Linked DNA regions of Homo sapiens: region 1 is linked to region 2. Evidence: promoter capture Hi-C in 16 types of primary human blood cells and fetal thymus (Javierre and others, 2016). All regions are on one chromosome and are shown on one strand. Each heading gives the region's core, a stretch centred on a gene start or on the middle of the fragment in contact. The rest is flanking DNA. Distances are from core to core; before and after follow the strand shown. Region 1 has its middle 75 kb from the start of CD2. Region 2 holds the start of CD58 (CD58 molecule).

Region 1 (6,520 bases), core at 3,666-6,165, 260 kb before region 2:
AGAGAGAAAACATTTTTTTCTTCTCCACAACTGGAACTTGCCTTCAGGTCTGAGGTCCCCACTTTATGTTTGGGAGTAACAAATTGGAGCCTAAGAACACATCCACCAGGATGGAGAAGGGGTTCAAAGCTGCCCTAGGGGAGACCGCTGAGGGACTAAGAGAAAAAGAAAACTCAGGGAAGACACAGCAAGGATCTTAACCTACAGTATTTGAAAAGCTGTCACGTTGAAGAGGGATTAGATTTACAATCACCCCATAGGGCAGAAACAAAACCAACCAGCTGAACGCTCCCTAGGAGAAATATTTCAATAAAGAAAGAACTTTCTAACAGGGCAAGAATATCCACAAATGGAAGTGACTTTGGAGTGAGAAAATAATTTATTGCTGATGTAAAGGAAGAAAGGGGAGGGAGGGAAGAAGAAAGGGAAAAACAGAGGCTTCCTCCTTCTTACGGAAGTAAGAACTTACCCATTTCATTTGAAGGCTGGAAGCAGTTTTCTGCCTTGGGTTAACTTGGAGGCAGACTGCTTCATTGTTCTGGAAAAGAACACCCTTTGGTTATGCAAATATAGAACAATGACCCTTTTCTAGAATGACAGGTTTGAGAGCCTGGCTCTTGGGAACTAAACTACAGTGCATAATAATGAAAAATGTATCTCTTTTTTTGTGGGAAAAATCGCATCTGTACTATCGTGTTTCTGATAGAAAAATATTTCTTTCCTAAACGTGGATTTAGATAACATGCACTATTTATATATTGTGACTTGTCCCTGTGGAAGTGTGAATGTGTGTTCCTGCCCCAGCAGTTTGCTCAGAGGAGACTCAGAAGATGGTGGGAGTCCAGGGGTGGTGGGACATCTTAGACTATTGATGTCTCATTCACTTGCCGAAATGAGAGAACCAGATAGGGGGAAAGTACTGGTGAGGAGTTTTCAGCTTTTGATGGATTCATTTTGAGGGTCTGGGGCAATGTTTCTTACAGCCTGGTTCAAGAAAGCTATATTCACCTCAAAGAATAACTGTAGAACAAACATCTGCATAATTGGTCACCAGTCAGAATACAACATTGATAGTAACATCAAAGACCCTGTGTGTGTGTCTTCCAATCACATCTCCTCCCTTTCCTATAGAGGTAACTACCATGATAATTTTTGATTAGTCTTCTCTTTCTTGTCTTAATACTTTTAACATCTATGTATCCCTAAAATCATTTTCTTAGTTTTGCCTCATGAGTCATCCATGTTGATGTTTGTTGCAGTGTTTCATGCCTTTGTAGTGCTATTATTTCATATATGATAACTTATTTGTCCAATTTACAGTTGAAGGACGTTTGAATTATTTCCAGTTTTTAAAAAAGAATTAAGACAATGGTGCTATGGCACCTGGTGCACATGTGCAAGAACTTTTCTAGAGCCTCGGTTTTCAAAATGTAGTCCCAGCATCAGAGCACCCGGGAACTTCACGAGAAATGCAAAATCTCAATTGCTGCATCAGACTTGAATTAGAAACACTGGCAGAGGGGCCCAGCAATCTGTGTTTTTTTTTTTTTTTTTTTTTTTTTTTTTTTTTTGAGACGGAGTCTCGCTCTGTCGCCCAGGCTGGAGTGCAGTGGCACGATCTTGGCTCACTGCAAGCTCCGCCTCCCGGGTTCACGCCATTCTCCTGCCTCAGCCTCCCGAGTAGCTGGGACTACAGGCGCCCGCCACCACGCCCGGCTAATTTTTTTTGCATTTTTAGTAGAGACGGGGTTTCACTGTGTTAGCCAGGATGGTCTCGATCTCCCGACCTCGTGATCGGCCCGCCTCGGCCTCCCAAAGTGCTGGGATTACAGGCGTGAGCCACCGCGCCCGGCCACAATCTGTGTTTTAACAAGCCCACTGGGTGTGCTAATGGCAGGTGAAAGTTTGAGAACCACGCCCTAGGATATGGATGTAGAAGTAAGATTGCTGAGCTCATGTTCACATTTCCAGATAAAGTCAGTCTGTTTTCCAAAGTAGTTGTGCCAGTTTACACTTTGCCAACAGTGTATGAGAGTCCCTGTTTTTCCATAACCTTGCCAACACTCAGTTTTATCAGTCTTTTTTACTTTAGCCATTCTGGTGAGAATTAAGTTATACTTCGTTGTGGTTTTAATTTGCATTTAACTTTTCAGTAAATGAGATTAGTCAATGTATCAGTCAGAGTCCCAGCAGAAAAATATGATACATTCAACTCAGGATAACTGTGTGTGTGTGTGTGTGTGTGTGTGTGTGTGTGTGTGTGAGAGAGAGAGAGAGAGAGAAAGGGAGAGAGACAGAGAGAGAGAGAGAGAGAAGGGTTAAGATAGGTGTGAGCATGTGAAGAGAAATAGTAGAGATGGTGCAAAAACTCAAGACTAGCAGCAGTAAGTCTGTCACTATCCTTAGGCCAAAAAGATGGAGATAGAATTTCATAGAGTTGGCCACCATTCGAGAAGCACTGACCTTCTGTGAAGAAAAGAGCCAATCCAAGGCAACTGCTCTCAGGGAGCAACTAGCTCACTCTTTTTCTGTCTCTGAATTCCCAAGGGACTCCTCATAGCCAGGAGATGTTTGATGAATCTGGAGGAGCAAACAGATTTTTTTGCGGCAAGAGACCCATTTATGAAGCAGAGAGTGCACCCTCACCAGACTTAGAATCTGCTGGCATTTTGATCTTGGATTCCCAGCTTCCAGTACTCTGAGAAATAAATTTCCATTATTTATAAATTACCCAGTCTATATGGCTGGCACATAGAAGGCTCTCAATAAATATTTGTGAATGTTTGTTGAATAAATCCTTATTTTACAAACATGGAATGGAAACACTGAGCATTAAGCAGCTTACTTAAAGTCACCCAGTGAGTAAGTGGCAGAGCTGGGATTCCAGCCTACACTCTGACCACTGTGCTCTCTGTCTCTGAGGCTGGTGCTGTACTACACAAATAGTAGTATAGCACAATAGTATAGTGCTATACTATTTGTATAGAGAGTATACTATTTGTATAGTATAGCACTGTACTATTTATGTACATTAGAAACATAGCAATACAGCACCTTTTTTTTTCAGAAATAATGCACATTCAAGGACTCAGGCAAAACATATTTGAATGGGTGTCTATGTGGAAGGGAGAGAAAGAAGAGTTGAAATTAGAAATGAAGGGAAGGAAGGCCAGGCATGGTGGCTCACGCCTGTAATCCTAGCACTTTGGGAGGCTAAGGCAGGCGGATCACTTGAGATCAGGAGTTCGAGACCAGCCTGGCCAACATGGTGAAACCTCCTGTCTACTAAAAATATAAAAAATTAGTTGGGCATGGTGGCGGGTGCCTGTAATCCCAGCTACTTGGGAGGCTGAGGCAGGAGAATTGCTTGAACCCAGGAGGTGGAGGTTGTAGTGAGCCAAGATCGTGCCACTAATCATTTCTCTAATGATTAATGATGTTGAACATCTCTTTTCATGTCTTTTTTCTTCTTAAAGATGAGTATGTTTGTAAAGTGATGCAAATGACCCAGTAAAGCAAGAGCTTGGTGATGCAGGAGGTATCACGGATCTCTGCAGGGGCCATGTCCACAAGGAGGAGCAAAAAAGACTGAGGTCTACACTTCAAACCAAGGGTGAGGCTTTGATTATGGCAAGGACACTTCGACCTACTTACCTGGCCTGAAGAAGAGGAGGTACGTGGGAATGCAGGCTGGATTCTAGATTTGGTGATGGGAAGATGAGACCATTCCTATTTGAAACCTTCTATTTTTTCCATGTAGTAAGAGGTGAGTTCACCTGCTGAAGAGGGTGCAGTGGCAGAAAATGTAGAAAGTCTAAAGTAAGAACAAGAAGATATGAGTTAGTTACTCCAGAGAGTGGGAAACGGTCAGTGTTGAGGGAAGCTTTGAGCACTCTGGTCAGGCTTCTGGTCATGAATTCAAAGTGTGAGGGTCAGCCTGGCATAAGATTTTCTTTAGAAATATTTTATCTGGCCAGGTGCGGTGGCTCACGCCTGTAATCCCAGCACTTTGGGGGGCCGAGGTGAGCGGAACAGGAGTTCGAGACCAGCCTGACCAACATGGTGAAACCCTGTCTCTACTAAAAATACAAAAAAATTAGCTGGGTGTCGTGGTGTGCGCCTGTAATCCCAGCTACTTGGGAGACAGGAGAATCGCTTGAACCCGGAGGCAGAGATTGCCGTGAGCTGAGATCGCGCCACCGCACTCCAGCCTGGGTGACAGAGTGAGACTCTGTCTCAAAAAAAAAAAAAAGAAATATTTTATTTAGGCACATTGGATACAGGCAAGGAAAAACAGTTATTGAGGTTGTCAGAGAGAGGTTTTTGCCAAAAGAGAAAGGATGAGGAAATGGAGGGTATTTGTGAGGTAGTGTTTATCAGGGTGGGCTTTGGGCTGTAAGTCGGATCAGGAATGCAGTGAAGACAAGAGGCCTGCTAAAGAGTGACACATGATGTGTCTCAATGTAATTAAAGAGTCACAGCCAAAAGGGCACTAGAGCAAGTGGAAGAGAAGGACAGGAAATTAGTTGAGATTTTTTTTAAAGTCTACTTTGTTTTTTAGAGTTTTAGATCCACAGCAAAACTGAACAGAAAGTACAGAGCTTTCCCATATACCCTCTGCCCTCATATGTGCACAACCAACCCTGCTATCAACACACCCCACCAGAGTGGTACATTTGTTACAAGTGAAGAACCTCCAGATGAACCTCCATTGACACATCATTATCACCTTGATACAGGTTGGACATTTGTCCCCTCCACATCTCATGCTGAAATCTGATCCCCAATGCTGGAGGTGGGGCCTAGTGGGAGGTGTTTGGATCATGGGTGAATCCCTCATGAAGGCTGTGGTGCCGTCCTCATGGAAATAAGTAAGTTCTTGCTTTATTAGTTCTAGTGAGAGCTGGTTGCTAAAAATGAGAGATGGCAACTCATCTTTCTTTCTTGCCATATAATCTCTGCATGAGCTGGCTCCCCTTTGCCTTCTACCATGAGTGGAAGCAGCCTGAGGCCCTCATTATAAGCAGATGTTGGCGCCATGCTTCCTGTACAGCCTACAGAGCTCTGAGCCAAATAAACCTCTTTGTAAATTACCCAGCCCAGGTAAGACACACCCAAAGTCCATAGTTCACATTAGGGTTCACCCTTGGTGTTGTATATTCTGTGGGTCCTGACAAAGGTATAATGACATGTATACTCCAGTAGGGTATCACACAATATCGTTTCACTGCCCTAAAAATACTTTATACTCAACCTCTTCATCCCTCCCTTCTCCCAAACCTCTGGCAAACACCTTTCCTTTTAATCTCCATAGTTTTGTCTCTTCCAGTGCCATTTAGTTGGAATTATACAGCATGTAGCCTTTTCAGGTTGGCTTCTTTCATTTACAGTCCCTCCATGTCTTTTCATGGTCTAGTGGGGATTTCTGAGAGGGAAATTTCAGAGCTGGTGTTCTTCTTGGTGATGACAAAGTCTAAGCTGATTACAGGTATCGGTGGCTGAGACGAAGTGAAGGAAAAGGTTGCTGGAGGTGAACAGATGGAGGAAACCAGAGGCCAGGACGTTGGATGAGTCATCCTCGTGGTTCTGAAGTGAGTGAACCATCCCACTGTCAATCACCCTTGGAAGAGATAATGCCTGAGACAGGAAATGAGGCCTAAGAGGGACAAGAAGAGTTGCAGTTTCCTTTCCATGAGCCTTAAGAAGTGGAGCTCAGGGCTTTGTGCAGGGGTGCTGGGGTGAGAGGCTCTACGTAGGCTGTAAGTGATTGCAGAGCTCAGACATGGGGAGAGAAAGGTTGGCTTCTTCCTGAGTGAACAGGCTGGGAGGTGGACAGGATGGCATTCTATAAGCAGGCGAGGATTGCAGATTCTGTCTTCTCCTCTCTCTGACATGAAGGTTTATGCTATTTTTGTGGCTGTGTTGTAATACCCTTAACCTAAGCTTTAGGTACGAATCTTGTTAAAGATTAACAGTTTGGTTTTTGCTGTCATGGTGGGGAATGGAGGGAAGGACCTGTGGCCAGCTTGAGAGAGTCAGAAGAAAGCTGCTCCCAAGTGTGGTTGAAGGACTGCAGTGGAGTAAGCTGTGGCTGGAGACAGGGCCCGGCCAAGGGGGCTGGGCCAACCAGGGAAGACTTCGAGGGATGGGAGTTACCTCAGAAATACATGGGGTGAAATGTGAGGGAAAAACAAGTTTCCTGTAGTCAAAGGAGGCTAGGATAGGTTCCATCCCTTGTTTTAAAATAAGACAGTGACAGAGTTGTTTAGACAAATGCTGGTACAGACCTTACATTTGGATTATACTTGCATAAACAAGTGCCTGCCCCTCTTCCTCTTCATACCCTCTTCAAGTGACTTATTTTGTGGTCCTTTTCCCTCAAAGCTGCTCCTGAAGTTCATTTGCATACCATTTCTCAGTAGACAGAATGGGAGTCAGGGAAGCACCTCCACCCCTTCCTGACGGCCCACCTTTGCTATGGGTTAATGTGCCTACTCTGTGACACTCTATTCTCTGTGCG
Region 2 (6,571 bases), core at 1,502-4,001:
TAGCAGTGATACGTGATTAGTCAGAACCCATCTATAATTCTTTAAAATTCATAGAATATGCAAAAAGGAACTAGATAGTAAGAAGCAGAGGGAGACACTTCTTTTTTTCTTCTTTTTCTAAATCCAAGACTTTCAAAAGCTTTCGTGTGTGCTTTCCTCTGCTCCCAGAACCATTGGCTGCATCCTTATCAACTCCTTGCAGCTGCTGGCTTGGCCAGGAGTTGAAAATGTGACTGCCTCTCCCTTGGGTACCCATAATGGTTCCATGTTAAGTCTTATGTATAATTTTTCCTAATTTTTTTCTAATGTTCTTTTTCTGCCAGGGTATGTTTTAAAAAGGGAAATAGAGTATTATGGAATAAGATTACCCTTCTATGTCCTTCGTGCAAATCCAACCAGTATTTATATAAATGAATGTATGTTCCCTCATGAGGCATGCAATGAAAATGACAATTTGCATTTATGCAGGATTGAGCAGTGTTTTGCTCACTACATTCTGGGATTCCTAAGCTTTGTGGGAGTAGTTCCAAAGGTTTGGCAGAAACGAGAGTCAAGACACCAGAGAGTGGCATGCTAGGAAGAACAGCCCCGGCCTCTTCAGCTGCCCTCTTTTCTTACTTTCTCATCCATGATTATCTACAGTGACAAGAAGATAAAACTGGACCTTGCAATACTAGTCACAGCATGAAAAATACATCCACCCCTCCTTTTGATAGCAGGTTCTCAGTATGTAAAGGGAATCTTTTTGGCTGCCTGCTTAACGCATTGCAGGTCCAGCATTCCTGAGCTGCTTTTGATTCATAAAATTAACCAGGCATTTGAGGGCTTCTAAAAGTGCTTGATGGACAGCATTTCTCTCAATGAAAGAGCAGGCACTGCTCCTTGGTCAAAGGAGAGTCCAACCAAGGAAGCCTAATGAGTTATTCCTCACCCAATACCTGGAGACCATGACCTGGGGGTGAGGGGCTTCCCCAGCCCCATGTGACTGGGCTGTTCTTTCCTCAGCCCTGCTCTTAAGGGGCTTAACAGCTCTTGCTGGCAGTCCAAATGGCTGCATAGCTGTCAGTCCAAAAGTCCCATTATCATATCCCGTTCCTGTATGAAGGGATAAGAGTAGAGGCATTGGACATGGCCTCAGCTGGACTCCAAGTTCTGCCCTTTACTGTGTGCCCTGAGTAATTTACCTTCCCCAGGCATCAGTTTCCTCATTTGCAAAAACAACAGCAGCAGTAAGACTAAGTTAATCCAAGCAATGCACTTCACACAGGGCCTGCTCAATAGATGTTTGCTGTCATATCACTTCCCAGCTCAAAAACTTTCTGTGGCTCCCCAGTGTCTGAAGGTCTAACCCCATCCTGCCTTTCTAAGTTGGCCTGAGTTCCTACCAGCCCAGGGCAGAGAACACTTGATTTCCTCATATTTTATGTTACACACTGCCCCTGCCTTGTGTTCCCAGTATCTACAGATGGTAGGGAATATCTCGAGATAGCAGGTTTGTGGTAGAGGGCATTGGTCCCAGAAGTTTCACTGATAGAGATACCTTTTAAGATTTTATGGCTAACTTAAGAAATAATTCATGTCTCTTTGCAATATGGTTCAAGTGTCTTGAGTGACTTCGAGTCCCCACCTGGGGATAATGGAGGTGAAGCAGCAAGAAAGCACATTCCCACTCAGTTTCACAACCTGCACCATGTATGTGTTGGTGGTTATTTGGGCAGCAGGGAGTCCTGTTCATGGAAATGGATTCCTGCTCACATAATAACTAAGAGTTCTGTGAACTCCCTCAGCTGGGCAGGGGCAACTCTGGTGCTTCTGTCTGCAAGAAAGGGGACAGACAGGGAGGCTGATGTGAGGAGCTGGTTCTGGGAATAGGGTCATTTGTTCTGGGATATAGGGATGTGAGGGGAGGGCCAGCTCAATCCAGACTGATGAAGAGCGGGGAGAGTGATGAGTGCCTGCCTCAGCTTGGGCTGGATGGATGTGGGGAGGCTGGGCAGTGAGGGAGATGTGGATCTGACATCTCAGCCTGAGGGAAAGTCCCGGTTGAGATGGGGGAAGACAGAAAAAGAGGAATCTGAGAAGGGAGAAACCAAAGGCTGGAAATCCCAGCTCCGGGGATAAGGGAGTATGGGGACGGGGGAGGCCTGCCTCAGGTAACCCTACGCCTAACAGTTGTCTAAAATGCTCCCTTTCCTTGTCATGTTTGAGGAAAAGTGGTTCAAAGAGGCCGTCTGATGCGGGATCACACAGCGCTGAAGGGATGAGGGGCCCCGGGTGCTCCCGCCCGTCCTGCTGCCTCCTCCGGTGGCTCTCTGGGAGCCACAGCCCCGTCTAGCCACGGAGGGGCCTACAGCACGCCCCAAACGCTAAGGGGAAGCGCGGGAGGTGCGGTAGGAAGGCAGAGAAACCTGGTTTTTAAAACCAAGCCATTTTCAAGGAAAGAATTTCTTACTTTAAAACCTTGGTTTTTAAAACCAAGCCATTTTCAAGGAAAGAATTTCTTACTTAAAAATAGCGTATGGAATGGCGGCGGAATGACGGGAGGGACCGAGCTGGGGGACTGGACGGCGCCCCGGGGACACAGGAAGGAGGCGCGCAGAGCCGAGGCCAGAGGCGCGCCCGGGGAGTGGAAGCGCGAAGACAAACGCGGCGCCGCGGAGGGTGGGGGAGGAAGGGCCGGGGCGGGCCGCCGGCTGCCAGCCCAGGGCGGGGCGGAGCCCTACTTCTGGCCGACCGCGTAGGCGGTGCTTGAACTTAGGGCTGCTTGTGGCTGGGCACTCGCGCAGAGGCCGGCCCGACGAGCCATGGTTGCTGGGAGCGACGCGGGGCGGGCCCTGGGGGTCCTCAGCGTGGTCTGCCTGCTGCACTGCTTTGGTGAGTGAAGCCTGCCCCAGGGGCCCCGCGCCGGCCGGCGGGTACTGGGCAGCACCCAGGCTGGGTGGACGCGCCGGGCTCGAGGCGGTTGCCGATCAGAGACGGGTGGGGACGGGTCGCTGTGGGCCGGGAACAACTCAGCCGTGGGAGCCTTTTCAGGAAGAGAAAGTTGTTATTTCATCGCCAGTGTCCCTCATGGAGTCAGCAAGGAACTGTGTGGCCTTAGGGAAGGACGGGCTCCGGCCCGCTAGCCTCTCCTGCGGGGCCTGCGCCCCCCCGCCGGCCCCCTCCCGAGCTCCAGTGACCAAGTTCCTTCCTGGGCTTCCCCAGTAACGTCGCTGAGCGCTTCAGCGGACTGCAAAATTTTTCCCAGCCGTGAACGCGCCCGGGACGGGGAGCGGGCGCGGATGCCACCTGCTCGAGGGCGACGCCTGCTGCCCTCCCCGCGCGGTGCCGTCCCCGCCCGCGCGGCGTCCGCCGTATCAGCAGAGAGGACTTTTCAGAATCGCCCCACAGCGAGGAGCGGGTAGGCAACTAGGAAGCCCAGTCGGCAGCGGCCTCACGTTGGGATTCCTAAGTGGTGCGACTCCTGCTCCTTTTTCCTCCCCTCAAATCCTAAAAACTAGTATCAGAACTGGTTCCATCCTCTCCGTGTGTTGTCAGCCAAGTCGTCACAACAACCTCAGGAAATAGGTCCCCTTCTTCCCATTTTGCCTCCCCATCCTCCTTCACCCTCCACACATTGGCCCCAGTCAGGCCATAGCAAAACCCCGGGAGTACAGCAGTAACCTCCCAGCGAGTTCAACTGTACTTGAGGGGTTCTCATGGCTGGCTCCTGCACCCCACTGCCAGCCCTCCAGCCCGTCCGTCCGTTTGCTCAGCGTCCGCTGCCTGCCCGGGAGGTGCGCGTGTGCATCTATGGAAGACAGCCAAGGGGGAGGGGTTGAGATAGACTCAAAAGTACCCGCACGATCAGATAAGTCAGTGTTGTAAGAGGCCTGGGCTGGGCGTGGTGGCTTACACCTGTCATCCTAGCACTTTGGGAGGCTGAGGCAGGTGGATCACTTGAGGCCAGGAATCGGAGACCAGCAGGGCCAACACGGTGAAAGATCGGCTCTACAAAAAATACAAAAATTAGCTGAGCGTGGTGGCGCATACCTATAGTCCCAGCTACTCGGAAGGCTGAGGTGGGAGAATCACCTGAGTCCCGGAGGCAGAGGATGCAGTGAGCTGTGATTGTGCCACTGAACTCCAGCCTGGGTGACAGAATATGACCTGTCTCAAAAAAAAAAAAAAAAAAAAAAGGTGAGCTGTGAGGGTACAGAGGGAAGAAGAAGGCAGTCTCTTTTGTGAAATCAAGTGTCTTTTGTGAAGCAGTCTTCATGGGAGGGAGGATATTTGAGCCCAGCCTTCAAGGACTGGTGATGTGTGGACATGTGATAATGTGGGAAAAGATTGCTGAGTGTCCCCTTAGGGAGTCTGGATTCTCTGAGCTGAGAGAGCTTCTCCTGGGCCTTACAGGATCAGGACCATGCGCCTGGGAAGAAGAATCTGTTAGCAACAAAGAGGAAGGCTGCAGTCAGGAGGAATTGGAGGCAGGGAGGCCAGAAGGCCAGGGTGGACTACCATCACAGGGCCCAAATAGCTCTGGGGAGTTCATGTGCGGGTGGCTGGGGAAAAGAAGAGATACAAACAGGGATTAATTGAATGGATGGGGTAACTCTCCTCCAGGCAAGCTGGTCCCTCATTCCCTGGCACCTTGGGTCACTGCTGCCTGTACCTGTGTTCTCCCTTCCACTGCAAACCCAGTTTGCCCAAGCTCCACCTCCAACAGATTATTTGAACTGTCCCTTCCTGGTGATCTCTCTCACCTAATTCATGTATTCATTCAGAAGTCATTTGATTCAGCAAACATGTATTTATAAACTGCTCTGCATAGGCCTTAAACTAAAGACAAGACTGAATGGGTATATCCCCTTTTGGGGACCCAAGCCTGCCTCATTAGGGAAGCTGCAAATGCAGTGATTAACAGCATCAGCTCTGGGGTCAGATGCCTAGCTTTGGATCCTGGCCCCACTCCTCACCTGAGTCATGAACTTGTGTGAGTTCCCTAACTTCTCTTCACTTCAGTACCTTCACTTTTGAAGAGAGTACCACTCACATGAGGGAAAGGAGAATAATAAACCCACTTCATAGAATTACTGGGAACATCAGTCATGCAATAAATATTTACTGAGTGTCAATTATATGTTAAGCACTGCACAATGGACGGGGGATACAGCAAGCTATGCACAGTTCCCTGCCTTTGTGAAGCTCACCTTATAGTGAGGGAGAGAGACAGTAAGTAAATGAGTAAAAACATGGATGCTGGATGGTGATAAAGTAAACATTTACTAGTACAGAGATGAGTAAAGCAAAGAAAGGGGTGATGGAAGTCGTTAATACTTCAGTTTAGGGTTTTTTTTGAAATTTTAGAACAATTAAAATCTTTAGGACAGTTGCAAAATTAGTACAGTGAACATTTGCGTACTTTCTCCTTGAATCACCAGTTAACTGTCACATTAGTTTTCTTTGTTATTTTTGCCATCTGTTATTTTTGCCAAACCATTTGAGAGTTTCAGATCTCATGACACCTCACCTGTAATTCTTTATCATATGTCTCATAAGAACAAGAGCATTCTCCAACAAGTCACAGAATCATCATAATCTGGAAATGTGGCATTGATACAATACTGTTTCCTGGTAGAGAACCCAGAAGCCAGTCCTGCACCACATACTTCATTTGATAATCATGCCTTTTTAACCCCCTTTAACCTAAAACTGTTGCTTTTTTTTTTTTTTTTTTTTGGTACTTTAAGACATCATCATTTTTGAAGTGTCTGGGCTAGTTGCTTTACCGAATGTCCCTTTGGATGTGGATTGCCTGCTTGTTTCCTCATGATCAGATTCTGGTTGTAACTCTTTGTAGCAGGAATACTTCATAGCTATGTTGGGTCCTTCTCAGTGTGTCACATCAGGAAGATGTGGTCTGTTTGTCACATTATTGGAGATGTTAACTTTGACATTTGGTTAAAGTGAAGTTTACCAGATTTCTCCATTGTAGAGGCACCATTTTACCTTTGTAAGTAATAAATGATGTGTTAAGTGATGTTTTGAGGTTGAGTGAATATCCTGTTCTCCAGCCATTGTTCATTCAGTGGTTTTAGTATCCTATGGTGATTCTTCCCAGAATCCATTATCACTAAAATATTTTATTTTATTTTTTGAGACAGGGTCTCACTGTGTCACCCAGGCTGGAGTACAGGGGTGCTATCACAGCTAACTCCAGCCTCGACCTCTGAGGCTCAAGCAATTCTGCCACCTCAGCCTTCTGAGTAGCCAGGACTACAGGTGCATGCCACCATGCTTGGCTAATTTTTTTTTAGTTTTTGTAGAAACAGGGTTTCCCTATGTTGCCCAGACTGGTCTTAAACTCCTGGGCTCAAGTGATCCTCCCTCCTTGGCCTACCGAAGTGTTGGGATTACAGGCATGAACCACCACATCCAGCCACTAAAATATTTTCAAATGGTAATTTTCTTCCCCCACCCTTGTCCCTTTCTTCTCCCTCCCTCCCTTCCTTCCATCCTTCCTCTCTCCCCTCCCCTCCCTCCCTCCCCTCCCCTCCCTTTCCCTCCCCTCCCCCTCCCTTCCTGTCCC

Evidence for each region. The method cuts DNA at HindIII sites, captures the fragments that hold promoters and counts their contacts. A CHiCAGO score of 5 or more calls a contact.
Region 1: a contact is called between a fragment that was not itself captured here and the fragment with the promoter of CD58 in region 2, in 5 of 17 cell types (M2 macrophages, megakaryocytes, activated CD4 T cells and 2 more). The highest score is 8.2, in M2 macrophages.

The regions. Positions count from the first base shown.
Region 1 is chr1:116,826,493-116,833,012 of GRCh38, reverse strand. No RefSeq gene overlaps it. Among named protein-coding and RNA genes, the nearest start is that of CD2, 75 kb to the right of the region's middle. RefSeq lists an enhancer at 5,432-5,621. The HindIII fragment of the contact is 2,060 bases long and covers 3,886-5,945 here.
Region 2 is chr1:116,567,206-116,573,776 of GRCh38, reverse strand. It overlaps CD58 (CD58 molecule), which reads left to right and starts at 2,751. Exons shown (of 6, transcript NM_001779.3): 1 at 2,751-2,874. The coding sequence starts at 2,805. LOC124904385 (a long non-coding RNA gene) reads right to left here and starts at 2,802. Exons shown (of 2, transcript XR_007066497.1): 1 at 2,724-2,802. RefSeq lists silencers at 2,550-3,009, 3,080-3,149 and an enhancer at 3,620-3,679. The HindIII fragment of the contact is 6,609 bases long and covers 513-6,571 here.